2 separate regions of the Homo sapiens genome follow, and region 1 is linked to region 2. Evidence: promoter capture Hi-C in human tissues and cell types (Jung and others, 2019). All regions are on one chromosome and are shown on one strand. The core of a region is centred on a gene start or on the middle of the fragment in contact, and the rest is flanking DNA. Distances in the headings are between cores, read along the strand shown.

Region 1 (2,700 bases), core at 188-2,687, 130 kb after region 2:
CAGGAGAACTCACCCAAAACACCTGGTGGGACTTCTGAAGACAGAGTTTGTGCTGGTACCAAGTGCCGCTTTCAGAGAGAAACACCGTGTGGTCAGGGGAAGACACTCTAAATCCTGCAGACTATACCAGATAGTCAACCTAAAAGGAAGAATCCGAGGCAAAGTTAATATAAGTAGGCAGTTTATTTGGGCCAAGCTTGAGGATTGCAGCTGGGAGCAGAGATTCAAGTTGCCCTGAGTATATGCTCTGATAATATATGCTCTGAGAAGCAGCAGTTACAAGTGGGGTTATTTTTTTATTTTTTTGTTGTTGATTTTGAGATGGAGTCTCACTCTGTCACCCAGGCTAGAGTACAGTGGCGCAATCTCGGCTCACTGAAACCTCCAATTCCTGGGTTCAAGCAATGCTCCTGACTCAGCCTCCCAGGTGGCTGGGATTACAGGCACATGCCACTATGCCTGGCTAACTTTTGTATTTTTAGTAGAGATAGGGTTTCATCATGTTGGCCAAGCTGGTCTTGAACTCCTGACCTCAGGTGATCCGCCCAACTCGGCCTCCCAAAGTGCTGGGATTACAGGTGTGAGCCACCACGCCTGGCCACAAGTGGGTTTTTAAAGGCAAAAGAAGAGGATGAGGAGTGGGCTGACAGCAAGTTGACTGTCAGGAATTCTTGTCGGTTTACAGAAACAACAGTGCCGAGTGATTGGCTGTACATTATTAACCTATAGGATGCCAGTAACAGCATCTGGTGTGGCATCATTAGGCTGACTCATACCTGTAGGGTTCAGGGCATGGGGTATGGAGTCCAGTGGATGTCACTAGGTTGATTCATAACTGGAGGGTACATGGCATGGGGTACAGTGTCCAGTGTATGTCACTAGGTTGACTCATAACTGTAGGGTACAAGGTATGGGGTAAGGTGTCTGGTGCATGTTACTAGGTTGACTCACAGCTGTAGGGTACAGGGCATGGGGTACGGTGTCCAGTGTATGTCACTAGGTTGACTCATAACTGTAGGGTACAGGGCATGGAGTACGGTGTCCAATGTATGTCACTAGGTTGACTCATAACTGTAGGGTACAGGGCATGGAGTACGGTGTCCAATGTATGTCACTAGGTTGACTCATAACTGTAGGGTACAGGGCATGGAGTACGGCATCCGGTGCATGTCACTAGATTGACTCAACTGTAGGGTACAGGGTATGGGGTAAGGTGTCTGGTGCATGTCACTAGGTTGACTCACAGCTGTAGGGTACAGGGCATGGGGTAAGGTGTCTGGTGCATGTCACTAGGTTGACTCACAGCTGTAGGGTACAGGGTATGGGGTATGGTGTCCGGTGCATGTCACTAGGTTGACTCACAGCTGTAGGGTACAGGGCATGGGGTACGGTGTCTGGTGCATGTCACTAGGTTGACTCACAGCTGTAGGGTACAGGGCATGGGGTATGGTGTCCGGTGTATGTCACTAGGTTGACTCATAACTGTAGGGTACAGGGCATGGGGTACGGTGTCCAGTGTATGTCACTAGGTTGACTCATAACTGTAGGGTACAGGGCATGGAGTACGGCATCCGGTGCATGTCACTAGATTGACTCAACTGTAGGGTACAGGGTATGGGGTAAGGTGTCTGGTGCATGTCACTAGGTTGACTCACAGCTGTAGGGTACAGGGCATGGGGTACAGTGTCCGGTGCATGTCACTAGGTTGACTCACAGCTATAGGGTACAGGGCATGGGGTATGGTGTCCAGTGTATGTCACTAGGTTGACTCATAACTGTAGGGTACAGGGCACGGGGTACAGTGTCTGACGTGGTATCACTACATTGATTCATAGCTACTTGTAGCAGCAGCAAGCAGTTTCAAGAGATGCACGCATAAGGTCAAGGGGTGTATGTGATGTGACTGCTGCCTGATTTTACTGTCTCTCTGGACCTAATAGTTTAAAAGGATTCATACTCCTGAGATAAAAGTTCTTTTCTCAGCCATATGTAGAAAGCTGAAACTGGATCTCTTCCTTACACCTTATACAAAAATTAATTCAAGATGGATTGAAGACTTAAATTTAGACCTAAAACCATAAAATCCCTAGAAGAAAACCTAGGCAGTATCATTCAGGATATAGGCGTGGGCAAGGACTTCATGTCTAAAACACCAAAAGCAATGGCAACAAAACCCAAAAATGATAAATGAGGTCTAATTAAACTAAAGAGCTTCTGCACAGCAAAAGAAACTACCATCAGAGTGAAGAGGCAACCTACAGAATAGGAGAAAATTTTTGCAATCTACTCATCTGACAAAGGGCTAATATCCAGAATCTACAAAGAACTCAAACAAACTTAACTTACAAGGAAAAAACAACCCCATCAACAAGTGGGCAAAGGATATGAGCAGACACTTCTCAAAAGAAGACATTTATGCAGCCAAAAGACACATGAAAAAATGCTCACCATCACTGGCTATCAGAGAAATGCAAATCAAAACCACAATGAGATACCATCTCACACCAGTTAGAATGGCAATCATTAAAACGTCAGGAAACAACAGGTGCTGGAGAGGATGTGGAGAAATAGGAACACTTTTACACTGTTGGTGGGACTGTAAACTAGTTCAACCACTGTGGAAGACAGTGTGGCGATTCCTCAGGGATCTAGAACTAGAAATATCATTTGCCCAGCCATCTCATTACTGGGTATATACCC
Region 2 (2,700 bases), core at 197-2,696:
CCCAAATTCCTACAACCGTCTCTTCCTAATGACTTTTCAGGTGGGGACACGTGCCAAGACGGCCAATAGATACCTGAAACCCGGGGTAGTGCTGAACCTTACTTACACTACGTTTTCTCCTATACACACCTGCCTATAATAAAGTTTAATTTAGAAGTCAGGCACAATGAGAGATTAACAACACTAATAATAAACCAGAACAATTATAACACTATACTGTAGTAAAAGTTATGAGAATGCGGTCTCCCTGAAAACACCTTGCTGTCCTGTACTCACCGAATTTCAGAGCAGAGGACTCTGACTGACAGGTGTTCCCCGACTCCCAGTGGCGAAAGGTCCTCAGGGAAAACAGGTGAACGCTATCAAAGTATGCTTATCTCCGAACCTTTCTTAAACCAGAGTCTTAAGGGATCGTCTCTGATTAGGTCTAGAATTCCTCTCCATAGAAGATAACCTACTTCTCGCGCAAATCTGCAGTGTTCTTGCAGGGCTGCTGATGGGTGGTCCTGTTCTTTTCGCGGTCCTGTTTGCGCAGAGATGAAACGGGGAACTTAGCGTATCCCTACCGCTCTTTTTGATGACAGGAGTAAAGGGCTGTTCAGACTACCTAAACAATGTTGTTAAGAGAAGCACTCGTACTTCTCAGACTTCGCTGTTCCGGACCCCGCGAGCCAGGGGCAGGCACCGGGTCCACCCGGGGCTGAGCTGCGGCGGCGCCTGACAATGCCCCCTCGCGCCCCGGCCTCGGCGCCCGCTCCCGGCTCCAGCGCGCCTGCACGTACGTAGCCTTCACGTGTGTGTGGATACGGAGTGCATGTGTGGAGACAGAGGAATATGCTCCAACAAATTTCGGATAGAGGCGCCGAAGACAGGACGTGGGGAAGGTAGGAGCCGCGTGCACGGCTCCGGCCCCGGGCGGGAGGCGGCCGCGAGCCGGGCCGGCCGCGCGCAAGTCCGGCGCCAGCCGCTAGAGCCCCCAGTGCGCGGCCCGGCCGCGGGGCGCCTCGACCCGACACAATAAACTCCGAGGGCGGGCGGGCCGAGGGGCCGGTGGGGCCGAGCGGCCGCCCCGCGCGCATCGCCATGTGAGCGGCTGCCGCGGCTTCGCGGGGACCCAACTTTCCCGGGCGGCGGCGCCCAACTTCCCGCCGCCCGCTCCGGCCCCGCAGGCCCGCGGCGCCAGGGGAAGACGCGAGTAAGTGCGGGCGGCGGTGCCCTCCCGGCCCTCACCCCGCACGCGGCGACCCGGCCGCCTAGCCTCCCTCGCTCAGGCGCGACCGCGGCGTTCTCTGAGGTGGAGTATTACAAACATGGCGCCCCTCGAGCCCGGAGCCCTTCGCGCGGAGCCGGCGGCGGGGTCCGGGCGGGGGGGAGCCGGGGAGGAGGGAGGAGGCCGGCAGGGAGGAGGAGGAGGCGGCCTGAGCGTCCCCCCCGCCCCCCGCGCCCGTCGCCGGCTCAGGCCCGAGAGGCGCCGGGCGGCGGGAAGGAGGCGGCACCGGAGGGGAGGGCCGGGCGCGGCGGCGGCGGCGGTGGAGGAGCCGGAGCATAATGGTGGGGAAAGCTCGGCGGCGGGGCGGCGGGGCGGGCGGGGGCGTCCGTGGAGATGGCGCGGCCCGCGCGGTGGAGCCTGCCTGGCCGCGGCCTCTGGGGCGGCGGCGGCACCAGTGGGTGCTGACGGTCGCTCGCCCGCTCGCGAAGAGCTCCGAGCTGCCGGGGAGCTTTGTGGATGGCGGGGCGGGCCGGGCCGGCGGGGCCTGCGAGGGCGGCGGCGGGGCCTGCGGAGGCTGCCGGCCCGCGCCCACTCGCCTTGGGCGGCCGCGGAAGAGGCCCCGGGATGAGGCCCCGGAGGACCGCGCGGGGCCTGCTCGGGCCGGGAAGCCGCGGAGTCGCGTGAGCACCGCCCGCCGGGCCCTGTGCCCCGCTTTCGGTCAGGCCTCCTGGGCCCGTGCGCAGTCCGGGCCGGCGGGGAACGCGGCTCCGGGCGTGTGGCGGGCGGAGAGGAAGCGTTTGTCGGCGCGGCACGTCGTGTGCTAGCCCGGGAGCGGCGGGCAGGGCTGGCCCCGAGGCCCGGGGCGGAGATTCGTCGGTCCCCCGGGGCTGTGAGCGACCCCGGCAGCGAGGCCGCCGCCTCAACAGGTCCTCGCGGACCTCCGGGACAGTCCTGTGGGGTCCGCCGCCCTCCTCCCACCCAGAGCTCCGGGGAGAAGCTGCTGAGGACGCGGCTGGGACGAGGGGGGGCGCCGGGACCCGGACTTTCACTTGCAGTCTCTCCTCGCGCTTTTCTCCCGAGCCGGGAGGAGGAGGAGCTGGCGATGTGTGCGCCGTGCCCGGTGTCTTTTGCAGAGTGACCGCCGTACCTGTTTTATTCGTGTGTACCAGTGCTCGTTGTGCAGTGCGGTGTCCTATGCGGTGGGTACGCAGTACCGGGGATTATATATGGTGTGTACTCTGTGTCATATGCAGTGTGCTCGAAGTACCCGGTGTCGTACCGGCTATCATACACGGTGTGTACATGTATCTTCCTCGCTTAGGCTGTGCACTCAGCCCCCGGTATTGTGTGCAGTAGGTGCCTGGTACCCTGCTGCCATATGAGCTGTGCGTGTGGTACTCCATGTTATATACGAGTGTATGTAGTATCTGGATAGTATTGAATATATTTACCTTACCTGTTGTCACATACAGTGTGTATGTAGTACCTGG

What was found. Contacts are between HindIII fragments. The study calls those that stand out against the background at their distance.
Region 1: a contact is called between a fragment that was not itself captured here and the fragment with the promoter of ZMYND11 in region 2, in 1 of the 25 tissues and cell types used here (dorsolateral prefrontal cortex).

Annotation. Positions count from the first base shown.
Region 1 is chr10:263,520-266,219 of GRCh38, forward strand. LOC107984191 (a long non-coding RNA gene) reads right to left here. Exons shown (of 4, transcript XR_007062029.1): 2 at 14-139. Among named protein-coding and RNA genes, the nearest start is that of ZMYND11, 130 kb to the left of the region's middle. RefSeq lists an enhancer at 749-1,948. The HindIII fragment of the contact is 8,284 bases long and covers 1-2,700 here.
Region 2 is chr10:134,009-136,708 of GRCh38, forward strand. ZMYND11 (zinc finger MYND-type containing 11) reads left to right here and starts at 1,447. Exons shown (of 15, transcript NM_001370100.5): 1 at 1,447-1,551. RefSeq lists silencers at 689-2,248, 696-874. The HindIII fragment of the contact is 15,828 bases long and covers 1-2,700 here.